Linked DNA regions of Homo sapiens: region 2 is linked to region 1. The links are contacts of gene promoters, found by promoter capture Hi-C in human tissues and cell types (Jung and others, 2019). All regions are on one chromosome and are shown on one strand. Each heading gives the region's core, a stretch centred on a gene start or on the middle of the fragment in contact. The rest is flanking DNA. Distances are from core to core; before and after follow the strand shown. Region 1 holds the start of PLEKHA7 (pleckstrin homology domain containing A7). Region 2 overlaps PIK3C2A (phosphatidylinositol-4-phosphate 3-kinase catalytic subunit type 2 alpha).

Region 1 (6,834 bases), core at 2,416-4,915:
GGGAGGCTGAGGCAGGAGAATTGCTTGAACCCAGGAGACAGAGGTTGCAGTGAGCTGAGATTGTGCTGCTGCACTCCAGCCTGGGTGACAGAGTGAGACTCTGGCTCAAAAAAAAAAAAGTTTCCTTTTTAAAGAAACTGCCAAACTATTCTTCAGAGTGGCTGTACCATTTTACATCCCACTAGCAATGTATGAGACATAAAGTTTCTCTGCATACTCTTTTGTCACTATTTTTTATTTTAGTTTCTAACATATAATTTTGAAAATCAGTGATAGGCATTGAGTTTTATTGATTACATATTTTGGCATTTATTGAGATAATTTCAGTGTGTCTCTTATTGGACCTATTAATGAATTGTATTATTCTATGTATCTATATGTATATGTTTTAAATGATAAAAAGATCAAACAGTATGAAAGGGGAAACAAGGTAAAGTAAATCTCGTACCATTCCTATTAGAGTTTCCCTCCTCAGAGGCAATCACTTTACCTGATTCTTGACAGTGTAGGGACTATATCTGTATGTTAACAGTAGCATATCACATGCACAGTACTGTAGCCTGCCTTTTCACTTTATTTATTTATTTATTTAGAGATGATGTCTTGCTCTGTCACCCAGAATAGAGTGTAGTGGCCCAATCATAGCTCATTGAAGCCTCAACTTCCAGGGCTCAAGTGATCCTCCCACCTCAGCCTCCCAAGTAGCTGTAACTATAGGTATGCGCCCCATGCCTGGCTAATGTATCTTTTGTAGAGATGGAGTTTTGCCATGTTGCCCAGGCTGGTCTTGAATTCCTGGACTCAAGCCATCCTCATGTTTCAGCCTCCCAAAGTACTGGGATTATAGGTACAAGCCACTGCATCTGGCCCATTTAATATCTTACAGACCATTCTATATCAGTACGTAGGGATCTATTCTCATTCTTTTTTACAGCTTGCATAGCATTCTGTTTTTGTTGTTGTTGTTGTTGAGGAATGTGCCAGTTTAATCAACCAGGTCTTTTTTGATAGACATTAAGGTTATTTCCAGTTCTTTGTAATTACTGACAATGCTGCAGTGAATACTCTAGTACACTGGAATTTGTGCCCCATGTAAGCACTAATGTAGGATAAATTCCTGACATGAAATTGCTAGGTCAAGACATTGAGGTTGGAATAGCTGTGCCAAATTGCCTTCGAAGAGGCTCAAACATTTTAAAGTCCCATCAACAATGAACAAGAATGTCTTTCTCTACAATATCTTTTCTTTCTTTCTTTTATGAGACAGAGTTTCACTCTGTCACCCAGGCTGGAGTGCAGTGGCGTGATCTCTGCTCACTGAAACCTCCACCTCTAGGGTTCAAGTGATTCTCCTGCCTCAGCCTCCCAAGTAGCTGGGATTACAGGCATGCACCACCATGCCCAGTTAATTTTTGTGTTTTTAGTAGAGACAAGGTTTCACCATGTTGGCCAGGCTGGTCTCGAATTGCTGATCTCAAGCGATCCACCCGCCTCAGCCTCCCAAAGTGCTGGGATTACAGGCGTGAGCCACCACGCCTGGCCAATATCTTTTCTAATTTATCTTTTCCAATCTGACATCTAAAAAAATAGTATTTCACCGTAAGTTGCAGTTCTTCTATTATGAAGTGGCTCAGTATCTTTTCATTTGCTTAAAAGTTATCTGTATTACTTTTCTATTAACTGTGGGTTCATACCCTTTGCCCATTTAATGTATTATTTAAAATCAATGTTTAGCTAGCAAAACACCGCTTTCCTATTTTCATTTGCTCAACAACCTCCTCAGAGGCAGGAGGTTCCTTCAGACAGGTGTCCCCCGTCCTCTGCAACCAGTTACCTCTTCTAACTCATAAATGCCTCCTTCCCCAACACCACTGTCTGTTCCCAAGGAAGGGCCCCTTTATGGTCTCATCAACATCTCACAGCCCTCCCAAAATTATGTGCATGCTCTCCCATCCCTCCCCTCTGGAGTGCTCTTTTCCCAGTCAAACCTAACCAGTCCTTCAGGGTCCAGCCTAATTCCACCTGTTTGGGCACCTTTCTGAATAACTAGTGCTCACATTGCATACAGTCTCACTTTCAGGCGCGCCTCCTCCCATCAATCAGAGCCTATGTCCCGAGAAGGCTGGGCCTGACAACAGCTGGAGCCCAGCTGCTGCTCTGTCTTTGCTCAGTGTGTGTGTGTGTGTGTGTGTGTGTGTGTGGCCGGGAGTCTGAGTGTGGAGTATGTTTCATTCACTCATCCTGCAGTTTTTTTTTTTAGACTGAGTCTCGCTGTTGCACAGGTTGCAGGGCAGCGGCGCGATCTCGGCTCACTGCAACCTCTGCCTCCCTGGTTCAAGCGATTTTCCCGCCTCAGCCTCCTGAGTAGCTGGGATTACAGGCGCCCGCCACCACGCCCGGCTAGCTTTTGTATTTTTTTGGTAGAGACGGGGTTTCACCATGTTGGCCAGGCTGGAATAGAACTCCTGACCTCAAGTGATTCACCCGCCTCGGCCTCCAAGAGTGCTGGGATTACAGGCCTGAGCCACCGTGCCCCACCCCATCCTACAGTTATTGAATGCGTAATGCATACATGAGTCAGGTGCTGTTCCAGGCATTGGAGACCAGGCAGTGTATGAGGTAGATCAAAGCCCCTTCTCTCATCCAGCTGACATGTTGGAACTAATATACAACAAACAAGACAAACACAAATATCAATTAAATGTAAACAAGTAATGAAATAGCGAGGGAAGGAGGGGAAGGATTTTCTTTGCAGAGGGCTCAGGGAGGGCTCCCCGAGGAGATAAGATAGGAGTAAAGACCCGAATATGAGAGGGTGCCGCCACTGCAAAGAGCTTTGCAGGGCCCCCTAGAGGCCCCGCCTGGCCACCGCTCTTCCAGAGATGGACGTGCTGCCGAGCCCTCAAAACCCCTTTTTTCTGTTACTTGACAGAAACTGAAGGCAAGAGCTTGCGATCCCTGCAACCTCAGTGGTGTGTGGCGGTAACCCTGCTCCCTCCTGTTTCACATCCCAGCTGAAAACTTGGGAAAATGAAATCGCGCTCGGCCTGCCGTTGATAGAGCACCTACTACATGCCATGGTCCGGTTAAGCACTTTATGCGATTGTTACTTCATTTAATCTACACAACAATCCCGTGTGGACTCGATTAACCTTACAGGGGAAGAGAAGGAGGCTGGGAATATGGCAGGAACCTGAGTGTTAACTTGGTTCACACACAAGCGGAGTTCCCGGGTCGGGAAGTTCTGTGGTGCGGGTCGGCTGGGGTTTACTGAGCGTTCGGGCGCTCGCCGTTTTCGGAGTTGGTCGGGTCCAACCGCGCGCCCCGAAGCTGCCCAGGCGCGCCCGCCAGCGGCCCCCGCCAGCGGCCCCCCGCGCCGCCCGGGTCTCCCGGCCTCGGGGGCAAAGGGGAGCGCCGGTGCCAGCAGGCTGGGGGCGGGGAAGGCTCGGGGACAAAGGCCGCGGGCACTGCGCTGGGTTGGCCGGAGCGGCTGCGAACTCCGGGCGCCAGGACCCGGCCGGGCGGTCGCTCCCTCAGGAGCCCGCGCCTGGATGGAGCGCCTCGCGGCGCCGCCGGGCCACGCGCAGGCCGAGCCCCCGCCACCGCCCCCGCCTCCGCCCCTGCCCGCGCCCCCGCCCCCTCCCCCCCACCCCGCGGCGGCTCCGCGCTCGGCGAACATGGCGGCGGCGACGGTCGGGCGGGACACTTTACCTGAGCATTGGTCCTACGGGGTGTGCCGGGATGGCCGCGTCTTCTTCATCAAGTGCGGCGCGAGGACCCGGGGACGCGGGGACGCGGGTGGGGGCGCGGGGGCGGGGGCCGGGCGGGCACCCGGCGGGCTGTGGCGGCGCTAACAGGTGCACCTCTCTGCCCGCAGTGACCAGCTCCGCTGCACGACCTGGCTGCATCCGCGCACCGGGGAGCCCGTCAACTCGGGCCACATGATCCGCTCAGGTGGGCGCCGGGCCGGCGGGTGGGGGGCGCGCGCAGCGGCGGCCCAAGTTTGACCCGACTTTTCTGGCGTTTCCGCAGACCTGCCCCGCGGCTGGGAGGAGGGCTTCACGGAGGAGGGCGCCAGCTACTTCATCGAGTGAGTGAGTGGGGCCGCCGCGCTCGCACCTGTGCCGCGGGGGGGGGGTCCCTCCCCGTTCCCGCCGGGCGCCCCGCCCTTCCTCTGCTCCCGCCGGCCCGGGCTCGTTGGCGCGCGCTGCGCCGCGGCCACACTCAACGTTTTGTGTGCCCAAGTTGTTTGGCGGCCTCCGAGAGGAAGGCGGTGGGGGCCGCACCTACGCTGGGGACCTGGGCCGGGGGGGAAGAGGCCGCAGACTCTGCGCCCTGGACCTTGCAATCCGGCTGGATTCGGGTGCTGGTGTGCGGGCTGGGCACGCCTCCCCTCTAGGGTCTGGGGCTGCGCCCCGCCGGGAGAGGCGAGTGCCGGGACCTGGATGGGCTCGGGTGGGAGGAGTAGAACGAGAAGTTCTGTCCTGGTGTGGGCCTGCGGGGTTGGAGTGGGGAGAGGGAGAGACTAGGGGAATCTCGCTTAGGAGGACGCCCCCTCTCCCGCCGCAGGCTCTGGGATGGTCTTGGAGAGTCGGAACCTCGCCCCCGGCCTCCATCCACTGCGCGGGCCTGCGGGGAGGGAGGGGGTGGGGAAGGGAACTGGTCAACCAATGACTTTCCTCGAGCGCTCCGCGTCTCTTCGGCCGGAGCTGAACCGGGGGATTGCTGGTGCTTCCGTTAGTCCACGGGCGACTTTTCCGCAAAAGCCCCGGAGTGTTGGCGCACCAGCCAGGTTACCCTGGGTCTGTAGGATCAGTCCATGTCAGATTGGGGCGCAGTAAGTGAAGGCGCGGGTCAGGCTCCTATGCCAGTACAGGCTTTGCTTTCCCACTCCGGCGGGAGTCTGTGTTGCAGCGTGTTTCCCTCTGCCTGCTGAGCTCCGGGAGGCCAGACACTGCCTTTGACCCCTTGCCCCAGTGCCGGACAGCAAGTAGGCACTCGGTAAATGTTTGTTCACTGAATGAATCAGCTCGCCAAAGGTCTGGACGGTGGTCTGACTAGTACTGACTGGGTGTACCTCGGCGACTGTGAGTCAGAACTACTACTGTTAGGAATAAAGCAGCCTATTTCAAGAAAACCCCGGAACCTCCTTTTCTGGTTTGGGTTCTTGCATAATAGTTGAAAATACTGATGGGTGAGATTTACAGACCTAAGGACTAGGGCCTTGCTGCGGTTCTATTGCCCTGCCTCATATGTGTGTATGTGAAGTTGGGGAGTTGGCTGGGGCCATCAGAGTCTTGCTGTCAGTGGGCCTCTCTGGCTCATAACTGCATCAGTTGATGTTATTACAATTTTCCTGTGTGCCACACGTTCACACGTTGTTCTAGGCATTGGGAACAAAAAACAGAAAAGTTCTAGGTGCTCATGGAGCTTGCAATCTAATAGGAGAGGGAAGGGAGTAGAAAATAAGTAAAAAACACAAATAATAATATCAGATCGTGGTTACTACTGTGCAGAAAGTTAAAATAAGGTGATGTGACATGGAGTGACTGGGTGGCTTGGTTGTACTGGGAGATCGGGATGGTGTTTCTGAATAGGCAACATTTAAAGTAAAATTTGAATGACAAGAAGGAGACATCATGTGATGATGAGTTGGCAAAGCATTTCGGGAAGAGCGAACAGCCAGGGCAAGGGCTTAAGGCAGAAAAGAGCTTGGAGTTTAAGGAGCAGGAAGGCTGGAATGTGGTGCACAAGGGAGAAAGTGGCATGAGGAGAGGTCACAGGTAGGAGAAAGGTAAATGCCGCAAAGCTTTGTGAGCCGGGGTGAGGAATTTTCATACTTTATTCTAAGCCCAGTGAAACGTCATTGGAGGGTTTTAAGCAGGGAAATGGCATGATTTGGTGTGTGTTTTTAGAACGATCACTGTGAGGAGATTGGATTGTAGGTGGCCACTGCAGGGGGAGGCAGGAGAGCAGCTGAGGCTGTTGCCCTCTTCCAGGCAGGAGTTAGAAGTGGCTTGCCTGAGGGTGGTAGCACAGTAGACAGGGAGTAGTGGTCACATTCAGGCTGTGTTTAGGAAATAGGCTCTTCACACCTTCATGATGGACTGAATAGTCTGTGGGAGAAAGAGAAGAGGCAAAGATGACTCCTCAGGGCTTGGGCACCTGAGTGGATAGCATTCATATCGTTGAGATGGGAAGAGCCGGTTTGGGGTGGAGGAGAATCATGAGATCTTGTTTTGCCATCTTACATTTGAGATATGAGTATGTCAGATAGTGTGATCTGAAGCTTGGTGGGGAGAGAGGACAGAAGAGACCCATTGGGTATAATAGATGTTATTCAAGGCCATGGGATTAGATGAAATCCCCTAGGAAGAGAGTACAGACAGAAGAGAGATGTTCTGAGGCTTTGGATGGTCAAAGCAGTGTTTAGAGGGGTGAGAGGTGAAGCCAGCAAGGAGACTGAGAAGGACTGAGAAGGTAGGAGAAACCCCAGGAGAATGCATGGTCACAGAAGCCTTAAAGGACAAAATCTGACTGGAGTAGGTGGAAGATAAAACACGGGGTGAAGACAGGGAGTCAGTTAGGCAAATCTTCCAGGTAGTTTTGTTGCAAAGTGGAGTTGAGACATTAGCCGGTAATTGGAGAGGATGTGGGTTTGAGGGAGGGTTCTTTTTTTTGGTGGGAGATTGTACAGCATGTTTGTTTTGATGGGAATGATCCCACTGAGAGGAAGAAGTCGATGCTGCAGTAAAGAGACGGGGCAGTTGCTGGAGCAGTGTTTCTAAGAAGGTGAGAGGGATGGGATCCATGGCCTGCATCTCACTAGCGTCA
Region 2 (6,834 bases), core at 1,253-3,752, 180 kb before region 1:
TGACCTCAAGTGATCTGCCTGCCCTGGCCTCCCAAAGTGCTGGGTTTGCTGGCATGAGCCACTGCACCTGGCCATGTTTCTAATTTTTTTTTTTTCTTTGAGACAGAATCTTCCTCTTTCACCAGGTTGGAATGCAGTGGCGCCATCTCGGCTCACTGCAACCTCTGCCTCCCGGATTCCAGCGATTCTCCTGCCTCAGCCTCCTGAGTAGCTGGGATTACAGGCGCCTGCCACCATGCCCAGCTAATTTTTGTATTTTTAGTAGAGACAGGGTTTCACCAAGTTGGCCGGGATGGTTTTGATCTCTTAACCTCGTGATCCACCTGCCTCGGCCTCCCAAAGTGCTGGGATTATGAGTATGAGCCACCACACCCGGCCCCCTATATTTCTAATTTTTATAAAAAAATACATCACAAGAAATCCACAGGGTAAAATTAAGTTAGATTCGAATGAGGAAGTTTCATTGTGTCATACCCTCAACTTGGAAATGTGACTGCATACTTAACGTAACAAAATTTGGAGAAAAGAATTAAACTTTACAAGTTAAATTTAATATTATAGAAATCTAAGAGTTAGAATTAATCTTTTTTTTTTTTTCTTCGAGATGGAGTTTCGTTCTTGTTGCCCAGGCTGGAGTGCAATGTCGCAGTCTCGGCTCACTGCATCCTCTGCCTCCTGGGTTCAAGCAATCCTCCTGCCTCAGACTCCCGAGTAGCTGGGATAACAGGCATGTGCCACCATGCCCAGCTAATTTTGTATTTTTAGTAGAGGTGGAGTTTCACCATGTTGGTGAGGCTGGTCTTGAACTTCTGACCTCAGGTGATCCACCTGCTTTGGCCTCTCAAAGTGCTGGGATTACAGGCATGAGCCACTGCGCCAGGCTAGAATGAATCTTATCATCCAATGTCTAACAACTTTATGTACTTGAGAAATTGAAGCTCAGAGAGGTGAAGTGCTTTATTCAAGTTGAAATAGCTAATTAATAATAATAGGGATGGGGCAGAAACTCAGTTTTTCTTTTCTTCTAATTCAAAGTCCTCATTTGTTAGTTTGTGATGCCTGTATTTAGCAATTTCTTTTTTCTTTCCTGCCTCAGGTTTATTTGTACAAATAGCACAGGAGGTGAGGACCCCAGCCCCATGCAGACGGCAGCCTGGGCAGGTTGCACCAGTCCTTGTGTCCTCACGTTGGCAGGCAGATACCTACTCTGAAGCCTTTGTAGGAGCCTGAGCACCTTTGCGAACCTGAGCTGGAACTGAAGCTGGAGTTGCAGCCTGGGCCTTGGTTTGATCCTTGTCCTTGTCGTTTGGCCGGCACAACCCAAGCCCCTTGGCAATGCGGGCACAAGCACGCTTCCCAAGCTTGGGGTGGGCAATGTAGGCAAGTCGATGGAGCTTGCTGCTGACACCCTTTGGGATCTTGGGCTTAACCTCCTTTACAAGGGCCTTCATAGCCTCACCACGTGGACTGATGGCCTGCCAAAGCCTGCATCTTCTTTAGGCCCTTCTTGTTTTGCTTCTTGGCAATGCACATGTTCCTCAGGAATTTGGGGTCCACCCCCTTGAGAGAGTCATATCTTTGTGATCGGGGTTTCTTTTCTTTTCTTTTCTTTTCTTTTCTTTTCTTTTCTTTTCTTTTCTTTTCTTTTCTTTTCTTTTCTTTTTTTGAGACAGAGTCTCGCTCTGTTGCCAGGCTGGAGCGCAGTGGTGCGATCTCGGCTCACTGCAGCCTCCGCCTTCTGATTTCAAGCAATTCTCCTGCCGCAGCCTCCCGAGTAGCTGGGACTACAGACGCGCGCCATCATGCCCCGCTAATTTTTATATTTTTAGTAGAGATGGGGTTTCACCATGTTGGCCAGGTTGGTCTCGATCTCTTGACCTCGTGATCCACCCGCCTTGGCCTCCCAAAGTGCTGGGATTACGGGCGTAAGCCACCACACCTGGCTTGATCGCAGTTTCTTAATACCATTTCTGTGCCATTTTCGGGAATGTTGTGTGTGGTGTGGTTCTTGGACTTGGCCATGTCTGCACCCTAAGCCATGGCTCCTGAAGCACCTAGAACCGGAAGCTATATTCAGCAATTTTTAAGTTGAATTTCTGTTAATACCTTTAGATTTAAGAATATTTTTTAAATATAAAACTTAGTGGGATAACAAAGCCGATTTCTAAGGAAATATTCTTCAGGGAATTTCAGTTTCTAACTGCGGCGGAAAAATCTCTTATTTCAGGATAGTTTTTATTGGAAGAATGTCTTAGTTCATTTTCTGCTGCTGTAACAATACCACAGATTGATACTTTATAAAGAAAATAAATTTATTTGGCTTACAGTTCTGGAGGCTGGGAAGTCCAAGGGCATGGTAGTACTAACATCCGCTTGGCATCTGGTGAGGGCGTTCTTGCTGTGTCCTAACAGAGTGCAGGCGACCACATATGACAGAGAGGAAATCTGGCTGAACTCATCTTTTAATCAGGAGCCCATTCCTACAGTTATGGTATTAATCCCACAATTATGACATTGTGTGAGTGTACTCCCACAGTCGTAGTCATGAGGACTATGCCCTCCTGGCCTAATCATCTCTTAAAGGTCCCACCTCTTAATACTATCACAATGGCAATTAAATTTCAACATGAGTTTTGGAGGGGACATTAAAACCATAGTTGTTTTCATAGTTACCACATAATAATTGGCTGAATGTTTAAAGTCAAATACTGTATTTGCTATAAAAGGTTGACTAGTGATGAGGTTTCCATAACAGTTGTTTTGTGGCCAGGCACGGTGGCTTACGTCTGTAATCCCAGCACTCTGGGAGGCTGAGGAGGGCAGATCACTTGAGATCAGGAGTTTGAGACTATCCTGGCTAACATGGTGAAACCCCATCTCTACCAAAAATAAAACATTTAGCTGGTTGTGGTAGCACACACCTGTAATCCCAGTTACTCAGGAGGCTGAGGCATGAGAATCACTTGAACCTGGAGATGGAGGTTGTAGTGAGCTGAGATTGCGCCACTGTACTCCAGCCTGGGTGACAGAGCAAGATTGTCTCAAAAATACAAAAAATACAGTTCTTTTGTGGGGATTATTTGTAGTTGTTGGACCAGAAGCAATTATTTTTTTCATATGTTAAAAGAGTTGTATAAAATATGAGATGGAGATGTACAGTATAGTAATGTAGCTTATTCAGCTTGTTAAATTAAGTCTCCTGTTCTGATTTAGATTGACCCACAATGTTGGATTTAGCTTGGAGAATATAACTTTACTGTATCAGCAATATTCCCCAAAGAGCATCTTCAAACACATGTTTAAACAAATAATAAGAGGATCCATATGTTTCTATTACACCTGCATTATTAATTTATTTATTTATTGAGACAGGGGTCTCGCTCTGTTACCCTGGCTGGAGTGCAGTGGTGCGATCTCCGCTTGCTGCAACCTCTGCTTCCTGGGCTCAAGCTTTCCTGCCACCTCAGCCTCCTGACTAGCTGGGACTACAATCATGCACCACCACGCTGGCTAATTTTTCTATTTTTTTTTTTTTTTTTTAGTAGAAGCAGGGTTTCCTTATGTTTCTTAGGCTAGTCTCAAACTCCTGGACTCAAGCAGTCTGCCCACCTTGACGTCCCAAAGTGTTCGTAGTACAGGCATGAGCCACCACACCTGGCCAAGCCTGAACTTTTAACTAGCTTTCATCATTAAATGAACCTAAAACTTTTATGAAGATCCTCTCCGAGTTAGCTAAACTGTAAAGTTTGAGGACACAGTCTTCCATAAGACCACTTTCACTTCTGACACCAACTGCAAGTCTGGGGGCTGGGGAGGTTCCCAAAGTTTCGATAACTTGCTAAAAAGATGCCAGGAGAACTCACTGCTAAGAGCTATTATGTTCATGGTTACAGTTTATTTCAAGGAAAGGATACAGATTAAAATCAAGGCAAGGAGCCCATAGAACCAAGTTCAAGAGGGTCTCAAATGTTGGAGCATCTGGTATTCGCTCCCCATTAAGTCAGGAGGTGTTACTCTCAGTATCAGTATGTGACAGTATGCATGGACTGTTGCCATCCGGGGAAGCTCACTTGTGCTTCAGCATCCAGATTTTCAAATTAGGACTTCATTAAATAGGCATGTTTGATTGATGGATTGCCCACATAGTTGAGCTCAGTCTCTAGATTGGATTCAGACTGATACTGGGTGACCCAAAGTCCCCATCCTAAATCACATGGTTGGCCTTTCTGGTTGGCCAACCCTGGCCAGAAGGACACTCCTGTCAAGTATGACATAGATTACCTCTCAGGAGCAGAGGGCACCTGTCTTTGGGCAAGGCTAAATTCTTTAATAGGTAGGATGTAAAATTAAAACTTACCTCCATGGTTTCTTTAGGAACAGACTCTGTAGACAATAGATGGATTTGATCCTAACTCCATGTATTAATAAGAACCGACATAATTTCTTTCAAGTAGTCATTTAAACTACATTATAACCTCATTGGGTGAATCCTCTAGTATATTTTTATCCTGCTTGGGCTTCACTGAACTTCTTGGTTTTGTTTGGTTGATGTCTTTCTTTGTGGAAAGTTCTGGCCATTTCCTTTTAAAATATTTCTTCTGTTTCATTCTCTCTACTCTCCTTCTTGGACTCCAATTACACATTATATTAGACCATTTGAAATTGTCCCACAGAACTTAGACATGCTGTTGTATACCCTTCCCCCTCTTTTTCTCTGTTTCATTTTGGATATTTTCTATTGATCTGTCCTCGGGTTTATCAATCCTTCTGCTTAGTCCATCTAATTAATTATTGATTTTGAATATATTTTTCCTTTCCAGTATTTCTTTTCTGTAGTTCCTGTTACTATGCTGAAATGTCCCATCACTTCATACATATTGTCTATCTTTTCTACTAGATCATTTAATATTTTTATCATAATTTTTTTTTTTTTTTTGAGACAGAGTCTTGCTCTGTCGCCCAGGCTGGATGGAGTGCAGTGGCGCAATCTCGGCTCACTGCAACCTCTGCCTCCTGGGTTCAAGTGATTCTCCTGTCTCAGCCTCCTGAGTAGCTAGGATTACAGGTGCGCACCACCACGCCTGGCTAATTTTTGTATTTTAATAGAGATGGTGTTGCACCATGTTGGCCAGGCTGGTCTCAAACTCCTTACCTCAGGTGATCCATTGGCCTCCCAGAGTTCTGGGATTACAGGTGTGAGCCACCGCACCCAGCCTATCATAATTATTTTAAAGTTACTATTTTTTTTGAGATGGAGTCTCACTCTGTTGCCCAGGCTGGAGTACAGTGGCATGATCTCGGCTCACTGCAACCTCTGCCTCCCAGGTTCAAGCAATTCTCCTGCCTCAGCCTCCAGAGTAACTGGGATTACAGGCACGCGTCACTATGCCCAGCTAATTTTTGTATTTTTAGTAGAGATGGGGTTTCGCCATGTTGCAGGCTGATCTTGAACTGCTGACCTCAAGTGATCCACCCACCTTGGCCTCCCAAAGTGCTGGGATTACAGGCCTGAGCCACCACGCCCAGCCTAAACTTACTATTTAATAATAATTCCAACATTTGGGGCATCTTTGAGTTTGCTTATTTTGACTATTTCCTTTACTTTTACTTACCATTGGTCACATTTTCTTGCTTCTTTTTATGTCTCATAATCTTTTATTTTATACCAGACATCTTTTTTTTTTTTTTTTTTTTTTTTGAGACAGAGCCTCACTCTGTGACCCAGGCTGGAGTGCAGTGGCTCAATTTCAGCTCACTTTTTAGTTTTTCATACTTCTCCAAAACTGTCTTCTTTTAAAATCACTAATATTAGGGAGGGGAAATGTGACTGCTAATGAGTGCAGGGTTTCTTTATGGGGCGATGAAAGTATTCTGAAACTTGGTAGTAGTGATGGTCACACGCCTGTGAATATACTAAAAATATACTAAAAACAACTGAATATACTAAAAACAACCACAATCTCTGCCTCCCAAGTTCAAGCAATTCTCCAGCCTCAGTCTCCTGAGTATCTGGGATTACAGGCCTGTGCTACCATGCCCAGCTAATTTTTGTATTTTTAGTAGAGATGGGGTTTCACCATCTTGGCCACGCTGGTCTTGAACTCCTGACCTCAGGTGATCCACCCGCCTCGGCCTGCCATAGTGCTGGGATTACAGGCGTGAGCTGCCGTACCTGGCATGTATACCAGACAGCTTCTATAAAACAAAGGAGAACCTGAAGTTTACTTATTTTTTACTTAATATTTACCTCCAAAATTCCATTTATTCTGTCTGGCCACTAAATTGAGTAAGTCTAATTTATAAGTAAGATGAGTCTGTGCTTTGTTGCAGCTGTAGTTTGATTCAGTTTACCACTGGGTCCAAATACTTTGGGGCAGAATTATGACTTTCTCCTCAGCAGGATTTGGGATCTAAGCACTGACATGATTTCAGAGATCTGTTTTGCCAGCTGAGCTGCCAGCTTTTTAGGTCGCTGGGAGGTTCTCTTTGTTCTTTAATTGTGCTTCTTGCCTTTCTGTGTCTCAGGAGATCTCTGCAGCAAAGGAGATCTCTGCCTTGCTGCTCTTACCCTTGCCTCAGGAGGGCAGCTGTTTTACATTCTGTGAAGGCCTGGAATGCCGTGGAGAGCTTTTTCTCAGCTCTTGCCTCCACAGCCTTTGGTAGCCAAAAGCTTGGATTACCTCAGATGGATTTCTGTCTGCCACTTGCCAATCCTCCTTTGGAAGATAACTGCCTTGTACTTCAGGGAGGCCTACATACTTCAGATGGGATCTCTTTCAGTTCTTCTGATCTGTCTTCAGCTTTCAGTGTGCTACCTGTGTATTTAGTGAAGAC

What was found. Contacts are between HindIII fragments. The study calls those that stand out against the background at their distance.
Region 2: a fragment that was not itself captured here is called in contact with the fragment with the promoter of PLEKHA7 in region 1 in 1 of the 25 tissues and cell types used here (thymus).

The regions. Positions count from the first base shown.
Region 1 is chr11:17,011,245-17,018,078 of GRCh38, reverse strand. It overlaps PLEKHA7 (pleckstrin homology domain containing A7), which reads left to right and starts at 3,665. Exons shown (of 27, transcript NM_001329630.2): 1 at 3,665-3,763; 2 at 3,878-3,954; 3 at 4,033-4,090. The coding sequence starts at 3,678. RefSeq lists a silencer at 4,963-5,257 and an enhancer at 5,142-5,903. The HindIII fragment of the contact is 16,980 bases long and covers 1-6,049 here.
Region 2 is chr11:17,188,677-17,195,510 of GRCh38, reverse strand. The region is part of intron 1 of PIK3C2A (phosphatidylinositol-4-phosphate 3-kinase catalytic subunit type 2 alpha); the gene reads left to right. It also overlaps the pseudogene RPL29P21. Among named protein-coding and RNA genes, the nearest start is that of PIK3C2A, 16 kb to the left of the region's middle. RefSeq lists an enhancer at 1-235. The HindIII fragment of the contact is 5,117 bases long and covers 1-5,060 here.